Regions from separate parts of the Homo sapiens genome. Here region 1 is linked to region 2. Evidence: promoter capture Hi-C in human tissues and cell types (Jung and others, 2019). All regions are on one chromosome and are shown on one strand. Each heading gives the region's core, a stretch centred on a gene start or on the middle of the fragment in contact. The rest is flanking DNA. Distances are from core to core; before and after follow the strand shown.

What was found. Contacts are between HindIII fragments. The study calls those that stand out against the background at their distance.
Region 1: a fragment that was not itself captured here is called in contact with the fragment with the promoter of PDCD6 in region 2 in 4 of the 25 tissues and cell types used here (dorsolateral prefrontal cortex, lymphoblastoid cells, mesenchymal stem cells and 1 more).

Annotation. Positions count from the first base shown.
Region 1 is chr5:655,004-661,746 of GRCh38, forward strand. It overlaps TPPP (tubulin polymerization promoting protein), which reads right to left. Exons shown (of 4, transcript NM_007030.3): 4 at 4,859-6,743. It also overlaps a transcript of CEP72 not described here. Among named protein-coding and RNA genes, the nearest start is that of TPPP, 35 kb to the right of the region's middle. The HindIII fragment of the contact is 7,661 bases long and covers 1-6,605 here.
Region 2 is chr5:270,396-276,389 of GRCh38, forward strand. PDCD6 (programmed cell death 6) reads left to right here and starts at 1,251. Exons shown (of 6, transcript NM_013232.4): 1 at 1,251-1,426; 2 at 2,316-2,377. The coding sequence starts at 1,326. PDCD6-DT (PDCD6 divergent transcript) reads right to left here and starts at 1,129. Exons shown (of 2, transcript NR_104613.1): 1 at 950-1,129. PDCD6-AHRR (PDCD6-AHRR readthrough (NMD candidate)) reads left to right here and starts at 1,251. Exons shown (of 13, transcript NR_165163.2): 1 at 1,251-1,426; 2 at 2,316-2,377. RefSeq lists enhancers at 1-292, 954-1,043 and a silencer at 1,334-1,543. The HindIII fragment of the contact is 6,729 bases long and covers 1-3,438 here.

The DNA.
Region 1 (6,743 bases), core at 1,525-4,024, 390 kb after region 2:
AATTTGATGTTAAGCTTGTATAGTGAATTTTTTATATCAGAAATTAGGTATATTTTTGTTCTAAAATTCCATTTGAGGCTAGGCGGGGTGGCTCACACCGTAATCCCAGCACTTTGGGAGGCTGAGGCAGGAGGATCACTTGAGGCCAGGAGTTTGAGACCAGCCTGGCCAACATGGCGAAACTCCATCTCTGCTAAAAATGAAAATTAGCTGGGCATGGTGGTGGGCACCTGTAGTCCCAGCTTCTTGGGGGGCTGAGGCAGGAGAATCGTTTGAACCTGGGAGGCGGAGGTTGCAGTGAGCCAAGATTGCAGCACTGCACTCCAGCCTAGACGACAGAGCAAGACTCCGTCTCAAAAAAAAAACAAAAAAACTCCATTTGATTTTTTTCATTAGTTTTATATCCCATTATGTTCACGTTTCCATTAACTGCTTAACCATGTTTTTAACAGGTTTACTAGAAATTCCCAACTGTTCCAAAGTGGTGGTACCCGCAGGCCCGACTGCTAGTTGTGTATGACCACGTCTGCCGGTCCATGTTTTCAGCACCCATTGCCTGAAGTGTTAGCACCTTCACTCCGGTGGGTGTGGGGTAGTGGAGGGAGTGGGGTGGTGGAGGGCGCGGGGTGGCGGAGGGCGCGGGGTGGTGGAACGTGTGGGGTAGACCTCTTTCTGGTTTCATTGGCTTCTCCTTGTTCAGCACCTTCTCATGTGTCTGCGGCTCATTGGGATTTCCTGTTTGTAAAGTACCTATTCAAGTATTTTCCCTACTTTTCTATTGGATGGTCTGTCTCATTTATTTGCAGGTGTTATTTATGATTCTGGGTAGTAGTGCTTTGTGAATTACATTTGCAAATAGCTTTTCTTGTCTTTTTACTTCAATGGTGTCTTTTAAGAGAAATTTTAAACTTTAATATGGCCCAATGTATCAATATTTTCTTTTATGATTAAAGCATTTTGGATCCTAATTTTTAATAATCTTTACTTTGCCTTGATCATAAAGATACTCTGTTACCTTCCAAAGGATTTTATAGTTTTGTATATTTTGGATTTTAGATATAGATTCTACCCAGAATTGATTTTTGCGCCTGTTGTGAAGCTTAAGGATCCAGTTTCATTGTGTTGCAGACATAAGCCCAGTTTTCCCAGTCCCGGCTGCTGAAGATTCCTTTGTCAGGATGATCTCTGTGTCCGTTTCTGCATCTCCTTGTCTGTCTCTGCCAATACCACACACTCTGGGGCGCGTACCTCCATCTTATGTTAGGATGTCTTGGCTGTTTTTGACCCTTTGTGTTTCATACATTTTAGAACTAGCCGGTCGAGTTGGGATTTTGTTTGGGATTGTGTTGAACCTGTAGATCAACTTGGGAATCATTGACGTACTTGCAGTACTGGGTTTTACAAGCTCTGAACATGGTATCTGTCTCTCCAAATGTTAGGGCTCCTTCAGCGGGTGTTCATACAGCCTGATACTTTTCACAGTGGTCTTGTATGTCTTTTGTTACATTTAATCCTAGGTCCTTGTTATTTTGCGATGCTGTTTTTAAAAATGTGCTTGGATTTCATTTTCCTAATTATGTGTTGCCATTTCATGGAAATTCATTTTTGTGTATTAATTTGTATCCGGCAGTCTAGTAATTTTAATCATTTGCCTGTAGCTGTTTCCTCATTTTTAGGCACACAGTCATGTTTTCTATGAGTAATGGGTTTTCTTTCCCATTCCTGTTGTTCTGGATTTTTACTTTATGTTTTTATTTTTGTTTTGTTTTTTGCTTTTCTACACTGGTCGGAACCCCTAGTGCAGTGCTGATTAGAGGTGGTAACAGAGTGGGCATCGTTGTCTTCTTCCTGATATTCAAAGGGGTGATAAATTCTCACCATTTATCCACTCACTTGTAATGGATTTTTTTTGCTTGTTTTAAAGCTTCTTCTATCAATAATTCGCCTCAAGAATGGATGACTTTTATCACTTTTTCTGCAGTGATGGAGATGACCATGATTTTTATCATTTAATATATTGATGTGTTTAACGACCATAATTTGCTTTTGTTAAAAATAAACCTTGAATTTCTGAGATAAGTCCAACTTAATAATTATGGATTTTCTTTTACATACATATTGTTATATTTGGTTTGTTAATATTTTGTTTAGCATTTTGTGGCCCAGCTATACTACCTAGCACCTGTGTTTGGGCCCTGATTTCCTCGTCTGTACAATGGGGAAATAGTGGCTTCCTCACAGGATTGTTGTGAAGGTGAAATGAGTTAGTATGAATAAGACTCTCGGGCAGCATCTGGTGCGTCCTGAGCACTGGGTAGCTGCGTGCTCTAGTACAGTGGTTAGTATCTCTCTTCACGGGTGACAGCCACTTACGATTTTCCTTTGTAATGCTGTTCTTGAAAGGATTCGCATCTTTACACCACCGTAAAATGAGCTAGGTTGTGTATTCTTTCTCCATTCTCTAGGAGAATTTACTTAAGATTATAATTATTTCTTCCATGGATGTTTGATGGAACTTGCTGGTGAAGTCACTTGTGCCTGGAACTTTCTTTGTCAGGAGGTTTGACTACTGATCCAGTATAACTCAGTGTTCCAGGATGTGGCAGAACCGTTCACACAGACCATCCTTATGTCCCCCCTGCCTTTACGCTGCATATCCCTGAGTTGGGCTGGGGCCGTGTGACTACTGAGCAACAGCCTGTGTGTGGGACTGAGGTGAGTCATTTCAGGGCCAGAGCAGCGGGAGCTGGTGCGTCACTGTGATAGCTTCCCTGCCAGTGACCTGGGCAGCTGCATCACAGGATTAGGAAGTCTGTTTGTCTTCTGTTAGAAGAGATCTCTTGTTATTCCTGAAGTTGGACGTTGTGTGAGTAATACATTTTGTGTGTCCAGCCACTGAAGTGTTAGGGGTTTTCTTTTGTAGCTGGCAGTGACTTCCCCTAAGTCACAGGGCTGAGCAGGCTTTCCATTTCTTTTCGAGTTAGTTTTTGTAAGTTATGTGTCTCTAAGAATTGGTCCATATTGTCTTAATTTTCCATTTTGGGGGGTATAACACACATAATTTGAATGGCTTCAACATTTGAAGTTGTGTGTGTCCCTGTGGCAGAGATGTAGGGACAGTTGTGTCCCTTCAAGCGAGACCTTGCCATCCAGGGGCAGGGAGTACAGGGGTAGAGACCATCTCCAGCCACCATGCTGTCAGGCTGTGCCTGGGCTCTGGAGCTGAGGACACACTCATCCAGGCAGCTGCAGCCAGTGTCCAAGCAGGCAGGGCCTGGGCCTAATGCGAACCACAGGGAGCTCCCTAGCAGGTCATCTCCAGAGCCTCCCTGAGGCCTCCCGGCCTCCTCCCCTTGCTGCTGTTCAGGGGCATTCCTCACCAGTGAGCCTCTTGTGATACAAAGGCCACCTCAGCATCTGCCTCCCGGGGACTCAGCCCATTCTTGGCCATTCTTCATATTCGTTATTTGAACTTTCTCTTCAGTCCTTTCAAAGAAACACCCTTTGCCTCCATTTTCTTTTCAATTTCTGATCTGATCTATCATTAGCCATGCTGAAATTACAAATAAATATGGGTTAAAATATTATTTTATCAATTTCCCTGTTCTGTGTTTCTTTCTCTTGTTTTATCAGCAAAGCTGATTTTTTTTTTTTTTTTTTTTTTTTTTTTTTTTTTTTTTTTTGAGATGGAGTCTCGCTCTATTGCCCAGGCTGGAGTGCAGTGGCGTGATCTCGGCTCACTGCAAGCTCCGCCTCCCGGGTTCACGCCATTCTCCTGCCTCAGCCTCCCGAGTAGCTGGGACTACAGGCGCCCGCCACCACGCCTGGCTAATTTTTTGTATTTTTAGCAGAGACAGGGTTTCACTGTGTTAGCCAGGATGGTCTCAATCTCCTGACCTTGTGATCTGCCCGCCTCGGCCTCCCAAAGTGCTGGGACTACAGGTGTGAGCCACCGCGCCCGGCCTCAGCGAAGCTGATTGATCCACCATCTCATTAGTTTAAATCTGCCATCTCATTTTGTGCTGTTTGTTCTATTCATGGTTTTTTCCCTCTTCACTTTTGCCACTTTTGGATGATCTCCTGTCATCCCGCATGTCCCTCTGCTCGTTTGGAGACTGTACTCTGCTTCTGTCCCATGCTTATGGCATGTGTGCGTTTAGTCCATGCTCTCACCCACCTCTGGGGTTGGTTCCTGGAGCGCGAGGCGCGCGTCCCTCTCCATGCTCCTGTTCTGCTCACCTGTGGGGGTTCCCAAGTATTTTTATGAAACATTTTAATCTCACAAAGTATTGATATAGCCACTGTTAATTTGGAGTTATTGACCTATTTATTCTCTTTGCTCCACTTTCTTCACAAACCAGACATGCCATTTGAGATCACCTTTGCTTTCTGCATTTAGAATTTCTTTAAATGTCTGCTGGTGGCAAATTCTCTTTTCATTGTCCAAAAATGCCTTTATTGTATCCTCATTTTGGAAAACTGTTTCGCTGGGCTAGTATCTCAGGTTGGCATTTTTTTTATAGCAGCCTGTGATGACATTGTCCTGTTTTGGGGGCTCTGGTGGTGTTCACAGTGTTCATGTCCATTCCCCTTGAATCTAGACCCCACCCAGGGCTACACCAGTGCTAGAGCAGGACTCACACCTGACAGATGGCTGGTCCGCCTGCTCCTCCTTCACGGTCCTCCTGTCTAGATGAGGAAGCGAGAGACTCCCTCGGGAAAAGGCGACACAAGGGCCTTGGCCCTGTGAGCTTCAGCCCAGTGGAGGCACTCAGCACACTCCCCACCTGGGGCCCCTCCAGTACCTATCCCCTGTTATCACCTGTTACAGACACGTGTGCTCTGAGGAACAGAGAAATCCATGTTTTAACACCTTTATTTGTCACTTTACCAACTTGACACACAATGTTAACGACAGCAGACACAGGAGCAGTGTGCACACAGACACGAGCTGTTTCACTACAGGTTTGCAAGCCAGGCTCAACAGCAAGTCCAACAGGCAACACCACACCTCTCACCTGCAGGAGGAACAGCAGGGCCACCCCACCCCGCGGACGTCCGCGGTGAGTGCGGTTTAGACATCAGCAGAAGTGGCTTTCAGAGTCAGAACAGCCATGACGTGGACATCACCCGTCACACTGATAAAGTGATGCACTCAGTACTCCCTAATGTTAATCACACAGTGTAAAAATATATTGCACATATATATATATATATATATATATAAATTTGTTTCCCTTTCTTGAAAAAAACTTAGTACAAACTAGTAGTTACACGATCCCTTTCAAGTTTCTCTTAAGTTGTGCAGATTTCCTTTGTGGTTTGGCTTGGTTTAGTTTTTTAAGAGGTCGAAAGAAAGAAGTAAAGCATCTCGATGTGCCCAGGACTCCCCATCACATGCCCAGGGACAAACGCTGCACCCTGGACCACCAGAGCTCACAAAGTGTTCAGTAGTAAGAGGAGGAAAGATGCAGGTTCAGTGTTTGAAGGACGTTCTAGCCTATTGATAACATCACGGTCCAGCCTCATCTTCCCCCTGTGCCATCCCCTCGTGGTGTGTGCTGTGGGGTGGGAGGGTGGCCAGTGCACGCGTGATTGCCCACAGGAGGAGATGAGCTGGGCCAGTAGAGGGACAGGTAAGTGTCCAGGGCCAAGGCATCTCCATCTCAACTCCTCCCCACTCCACTTGTACAGCAGGAGCCACAGGCCTGTGTGAAAACACAGGACAGGCCCTGTGCCAACAAAACACCATTCACAAAAGCAGGCGGCCGCAGCAGCCCAGGATGGGGGCTGGGGTAGGAGGTGATGCCCACGCAGGGCTGCTGTGGTCAGCCCTGAGCTGGCATCCCTGGGGCCCGGGATGGAGTGGCACCAACAGGCAAGTGGGGCGGCCACAGGACATGATGCCAGCCCAACTCCACCATCTGCGCCCAAACTTGGACAGGATATTAGAAGGTGTAAAAGTAGTCCAGTATAAATATATATCTTCTACAATATTTTAAACATATAATTTGAACTTTAATTTTGGTAACGCTAATTGTTAGGAACACTACCTGGTTGCTTATCCTATAGCAGTAAATTAAAAATAAATAAGCACTCTGGCGTGAACAGTCTTCTCAGCGCTCTCCCTCTGCCTTTCTCCTTTCCTGATGCTGAGACACGATCAGCACTGTCCTCCCGACAGAACCTATTCCTGTGTCCTGGTGTCACCCCCAACAGAACCTGTCCCTCTCTCCTGGTGTCACCCCTGACAGAACCTGTCCCTCTCTCCTGGTGTCACCCCCGACAGAACCTGTCCCTGTCTCCTCTTGTCACCCCCAACAGAACCTGTCCCTCTCTCCTGGTGTCACCCATGATAGAACCTGTCCCTGTGTCCTCGTGTCACCCATGACAGAACCTGTCCCTGTGTCCTGGTGTCACCCCCGACAGAACCTGTCCCTGTGTCCTGGTGTCACCCCTGACAGAACCTGTCCCTCTCTCCTGGTTTGCAGGTTGTGCAGTTTGTTATTCACAAATACACATTTATTTTCTGTTGAACCGTGGTTAGTAGAAGCTAATTGGCAGTGCATAAAAACATGCAGAAGAGAACACACACCTGCCTGAATTCACAATATTCAGAAACTGACTGAGGAAGATGCACGGGTCTGTTATGTGCAGTGGGGCTGCCGTCCAAACAATGTTCTGTGTTCGGAGGCGGCACACAGATGCAATTACGGATTCCACAGACAAGTTGTAACTGACAG
Region 2 (5,994 bases), core at 1-2,500:
CCCAAAGCTGGGCACTTCCCAATTCCGGGATTTGTGCTACAGGCACTCCAGGCTCCACCTTAGAACTGTGTCCAGCACGAAGGCAGTGCTGTCTTGCGGGAGGCAGGGCTGCACCACCACCGGGGTGTGAAGGGGCCCAGCAGGCAGGGGTGTGAAGGGGCCCAGCAGTGTTTCCAGCTGCACGGGGTCAGGGGCCGCGCTGATGCAGAGCACGGGGGCGCAGGTTAAACCTAAAGGAGGGAAGCTTTTGGGGGCGGAACAGACAACCGAGAATGCTGCACACTGCCTTTCCCACCCGAATTGTGTTTTGACTTTTTTTTTTTTTTTTTTTTGAGACAGAGTTTTGCACTTGTTGCCCAGGCCTGGAGTGCAATGGCCCGATCTCGGATCACTGCAACCTCCTCCTCCCGGTTTCAAGCAATTCTCCTGCCTCAGCCTCCCGAGTAGCTGGGATTACAGGTGTGCACCATCACGCCCGGTTAGTTTTGTATTTTTAGTAGATACGGGGTGTCTCCCAATTGGCCAAGGCTGGTCTCGAACTCCCGACTTCAGGTAATCCACTGGCCTTGGCCTCCCAAAGTGCTGGGATTACAGGCGTGAGCCACCGCGCCCGGCCTGCTTTTGCTTTCTTTTTTTTTTTTTTTTTTTTGGCAGAGTCTCGCTGTCCACCCCTGTAGTGCAGTGAGCTCGGCTCCCTGCGGCCTTGACCTCCCGGGCTCAGGCAATCCTCCCGCCTCAGCCCACGGAGTAGATGGGACCACAGGAGCCCACCACGCCCGACTACTTTTTGTAATTTTTGTAGGGATGGGGTCTATCCATGCTGCCCAGGCTGGTCCGAACTGCTGGGCTCAAGAGCTCCGCCCGCCTCCGCCTCCCAAAGGGCAGGGATCACAGGTGTGAGCTACCGCGCCCCGCCCAGAGTTTCCGACTGTTAGCAAATCACATTCACCTCAAAACTATTTATACAAGAACTGAAAGGCAAACTAAGTCCGTGCTCCATCACTTCCTGTCCCAGGTCGCGGGGCCGGACATTTTCTCCAAGCGCTTTCCTGGCACAGCGCGCAGGCGGCCTGCGCCAAAGCTCTGGCTTCCTCCAGGCGCCCAGACCCCGCCCTCCCCGCAGGCGCCAGGGCGTTGCCTGGCAACTTAGCTGCGAGGGGATTGGCTGCGCGGGACCCCGTGACCATCCCGGAGACCACGCATTTCCTGCGCCCCCGGAAGTGGTGATAATGCCAGGCCCTGCCCCCGGCAGAGGCGGAAGCGGAGTCGGCCTGAGAGGTCTCTCGTCGCTGCAGGCGCCTCAGCCCAGCCGCGTGCCTTGGCCCATGGCCGCCTACTCTTACCGCCCCGGCCCTGGGGCCGGCCCTGGGCCTGCTGCAGGCGCGGCGCTGCCGGACCAGAGCTTCCTGTGGAACGTTTTCCAGAGGTGCGGCCTGGCACCGCCCGGGCACCTCCCGCCTCCGCCGCGGCGGCCCCGACCCCTGTCCCGACTCCCCCGACCAACCCCGTTCCCTGCCGGTTCTACTGCGGCCTCCTCCGTCCCCTGTCGGGTCCCCCGCGGCCCCCTCCCGTCCCCTGCCGCCGCCCCCGACCCCTGCCCCAGCCGACGCGGCCGCCCCCGTCCCCTGGCGGGTCCCCCGCGGTCTCCCCCGTCCGCTGCCCGGTCTCCTGGGGCCGCCCCTGCCTCCTGCCCGGTCCCTGTCCTGTGCGTCGGGCCCTTCCCAAGATGCAGAGTGCGCCACTGCAGACCCGAGGTCGCGGCCACCGGCTCCTGGGCTAGGCCCTTTTTCTCGCCTCAAGAGCCGCCAGGTGGAGGGTCTCCAGGGTGCTTGTTTGGGGAAAGCGGAAACAGACTGCCTGGGCGCTGTTAAAATGTCAGCAGCCAAGGAAGAAGCAGCGACCTGGCGTCTGCTCGGGCCAGGTGACCTTTATGGCGGCGCCTTCTGTCCCTGGTCGCTTTTCCACCGAATGTCCGAAACTGTAGTGACTGATGGCCAGGGAATGGCTTAGTTATCTGAGGGAATCTTGTCTTGTCTGTGAAAAAGGGAAACGGGTGCAAATGGGAATTCAGACAGGCCAGGAGAGGAAGGAAGGGAAGGATTGAGGTGAAGATGATTGTCCTCTTAGGGGAAGACCACACTGGACGTCGGCTCCTGGGGCACTTCCTTGATTCCGCTGTACTCCTCAGCGGGACGGGAGAGGCGGAGGTTCCAGGAGGGAGCCTTCCAGAGTCGGTGCAGGGTTGACAGAAGACGTTTGTTTTGCTTTTCCTGAACTTTCGATCGCCAGCTTATTTGGTCTTCTTGATGTTATAGGGTCGATAAAGACAGGAGTGGAGTGATATCAGACACCGAGCTTCAGCAAGCTCTCTCCAACGGTGAGTGGGCCAGTGGGAACTGGGTCTCCGGACCAAGAAGCCGCGAGCCTGCCCTGTTCACAGTGGATAACTTTCTGAAGTTGTTTTTCCAAGGACAAAGGAATCATTAGGACAAATTGTTATTACTGCTTCGTAGTGGAGATGCTTCTGGTTTATTTTGTGGCTACCGCTGTTACTGCTTGGAGTGCCTCACCGAGCCAGCTAACAACTGCGTGCGTGAGCACAGGGAAAGGCTTCTTGAGAAATGAAAACTAGATTGTAGGTTTAGGAGGGGAATAGGAAGCTTAGCTCTGTACAGCCGAAAGCCTTTTGGTAAGTTGGAGGTCCTTGAATTTCCTGGGTGACTGCATCTTGGTGACTTCTCTGAATAGACCTTCGAGGGCACTGGGGGGTGATTGTTGGAGGGCTTGGGGAGCTCAGGCAGCCCTTGTATGGGAATGTGGCTGTTACAGGAACTGCAGAAACTGGGACTGGGTTCCTGGGGAAAGGATTGGGGGTGTTGGAGGCGCTGGCCAGGGGATTATGGGGAGGTGTTCTTATCAGTGTGCGAATACTGGGCGTTCAGGCAGCGGGAAATCCGGGTCCTTGCGTGTTGTGAGCTCCCTGGAATTACGTTCTTGCCAGTTTCAGCTCAGTTGATCCCCCTCCCCTCCGCTATCATTGGACACATTTTACTTCATTGAAACCTGACTGCCACTTTTTCTGTAATCCCTCAGGGGCAGTCATCTTTTCTGATTCTGTGTATAGTTTGCTTTTCCAGATCCGTGCCATTTAAGCTAGAAAAGGGGTCAGTTTTGAGATGTTGTGAAAATGTTGAAAGGCTTCTTGTTATTAGTGGGAAGTATCTGAAGTTGCCAGAGACTGAACTGGGGCGCGGGGAGCACTACGGCTGCTAGACACTGCCTCACTGCGCTGTGGGTGGGGGGGTGCTGGATTCAGCCTTACTGCCTAATGATTTGTGAGGATTTGTGTTTTCAGAGTAACATTTTTACCTTATATTACGACATCAGTTCCTAATATGTGGCGTGTGGGCCACAGATGCTGGTGTATTATTTCACATGCATTTCTATAGATTGTTTTCAGGGAATTCAGAAATGCTGTTATCTCTACACTAGTGATTGTGCTTTCTTGGTTTTTCTCTTTTCATTATTCTTAAATCCTCGTTTTTTTTTTTTTTATTTGCATCTCAGTTCGTTTTTACTCGGGAAGTGCAAGACGTGGCTACTAGAAAGAGATGTCAAGAGAACCCGGAATCCAGTAGGCTACAATTTGGCAAATCTCAGCTTAAAACTTCCTAAATGTTGACCACAGTGGATGCAAATGGCTCTGTGCATCACCTGTTAAATATGGTCAGATGACCATCCAGGTTCAAGTGGTTTGTCACCAGGGTGATACAAGCCACACGGAGTGCCCTCCTCAGAGGCCATGTTTCAGAGACATTTATTTTGAGTGGTTTTCCAATGAGTGATGCAAGATTTATGATCCATTTTAACAGCCTGCTTTTTATGCATTTGCTCTAATTTTTAGATTTTAGGTTTAGTTTTAGGTTTTCTGTTAAACTTGCTCAAATAGGAGTGGTGGTCAAATACTGGACCGCATTAGTATGGTAGCCTGCCCACCTTGGCAGGCTCCACTGGAGTGCTTTGGGGCCTGCCTGGATTCCAGTCCTGGCTCTACCAGTTTTGTGTCCTCGCCGTTACTGGGAGGGAGTATTGAGGAAATGCATGCGAGGTGTTTCCGTGATTCCTGGCACGGAGCAAGTGCTCAGTAATTGTCAGCTGTGAGTATTAGTAGTAGCTAATACACTGGTACTATTCTTGGCTAACAAGCCAGCTCAAAGCTTTGATGGTTTTCCATTACCTGATGATGGTGATGATGGTTTCCACTTACTCAACACTCACACGCTGGGCTAGGCACTTAACCCAAATCCAAGGTCAGCATTATTGTTTGGGGGTGGGGGAGACACCTCCTGCTCTGACTTGTGTGTTTGGGTTCCTGTATTTTCACCAGAGGGAGTTAGTCCTGCCCCAGTTCAGCTGGTCCTCAAAGTGTATATAGCTCTTTAACCATCAGCAAGTGTCTATCAGAACATAATCTTGATTTCAGCTGCTACTAAATATCTACCAGGAGACTGCTTGAGAGAATTGCCTGATGGGTGCTGAGTCCACCATTCCTGAGATACTTTGAAATCAGTGGCTTAACCCAAGCTGTGTATCGGGACCCTCTCACCGTGGTCCCAATGGAGTCACTTTTCTTAGGCGCCCCCCTTTACCTTGGGCTCTGAGCTTCCTCTGCCTTTCATCTCTGTGGGATGAAGCCCCACCGCCCTTCAGGATGCAAAGCCCTCTTCTCTAATGTGAGTGCAGGGCCAGGTGCAGTGGCTCACGCCTGACCTCCCAACACTTTGGGAGGCCGAGGCAGGGGGATCCCTTGAGCCCAGGAGTTTGAGACCAGCCTGGGCGACACTGTGAGACCCTGTTGCCTGAATTGCCCTGGGAGATTTCCTCAGCTTGTGCTGGGGGCATGTGGCCCCATGAAGCCCGTAGTCACTGTTCACCCTGAGAGACGCTGGCTTTCGGGCTCACACACCTGCTGCGGGGCAGCCCCAGGAAATGGCCACCCCATTTCTCCTGGAGCTGCGCGTGTTCTCAGAAACTGTGGTGGCCGTTCTGTTTTGTTTGCATCTTATAAACGTTTACCTGATGACATTTTCCTCTTCAATTTAGCTGCTAGAAAATTTAAAGTCAGGTTGGTGGCTCACCAGTAATGAGAGTTTAGAGTAGAAGTAAACTTTATGACATAGTCTTAGACTCTTCACTTTCTTCTCAACCAATATGATTCACATTTACTTTATTTTGCTGTACCGTGAGTGTCTCTGTGTTTCCTGAATTCCTTCTGGAATAAGGCAGGTTGTTAGTAAGCACAGGTTTCTGGTCCATCTCACAGCCTCAGGCAGTGGGCATTGCTGTCGGTGCTCCCTTTCCGGGTTACCTGTGGTAGCTCTCAAGTTGCAGGGCTGCGATTTGAAGCCTGATTTAGTACACCGTGTTTCTGTTGTGTTCTGTGGTGGTTTGCTCCTCACATGTGAGCATTCACCGTGGCCCTGTGTTTTTCCACCACACCTCTGCCTGGTGGCATCCTACTGGATGTCTCAGCCGAGCCACTCTGTTCTGAAGATGCCCTTGTCCTCCACCCCTTTGCTTTGGGCTCTAAGCTTCTTCTGCCTTTCATCTCTGTAGGATGAAGCCCCACCCGCCCTTCAGGATGCCAGCCTTGGCAACATTGTGAGACCCTGTTTCTACAAAAAGTAAATGAGTGTAGTGGTGCACGCCTGTATTCCCAGCTACTTGGGAGGCTGAGATGGGAAGATCACTTGAGCCTGGGAGGTTGAGGCTGCATTGAGCTGAGATCAAGCCACGGCACTCCAGCCTGGGAGACAGAGCGAAACCCCATCTCAAAAAAACAAAGAAAGTGGATGCGCGCTGCTCCTGCCATTGGATCATCGCAGCATTTTTCTTTTCTCTGATATGCACCTTTTTCCTCATCGTGGGGGCTCACGTTTTCATAGTTCCCTCTCACTACTAGGTTGTGAGCTGCGTGAAGGAAGGTTCATAGTT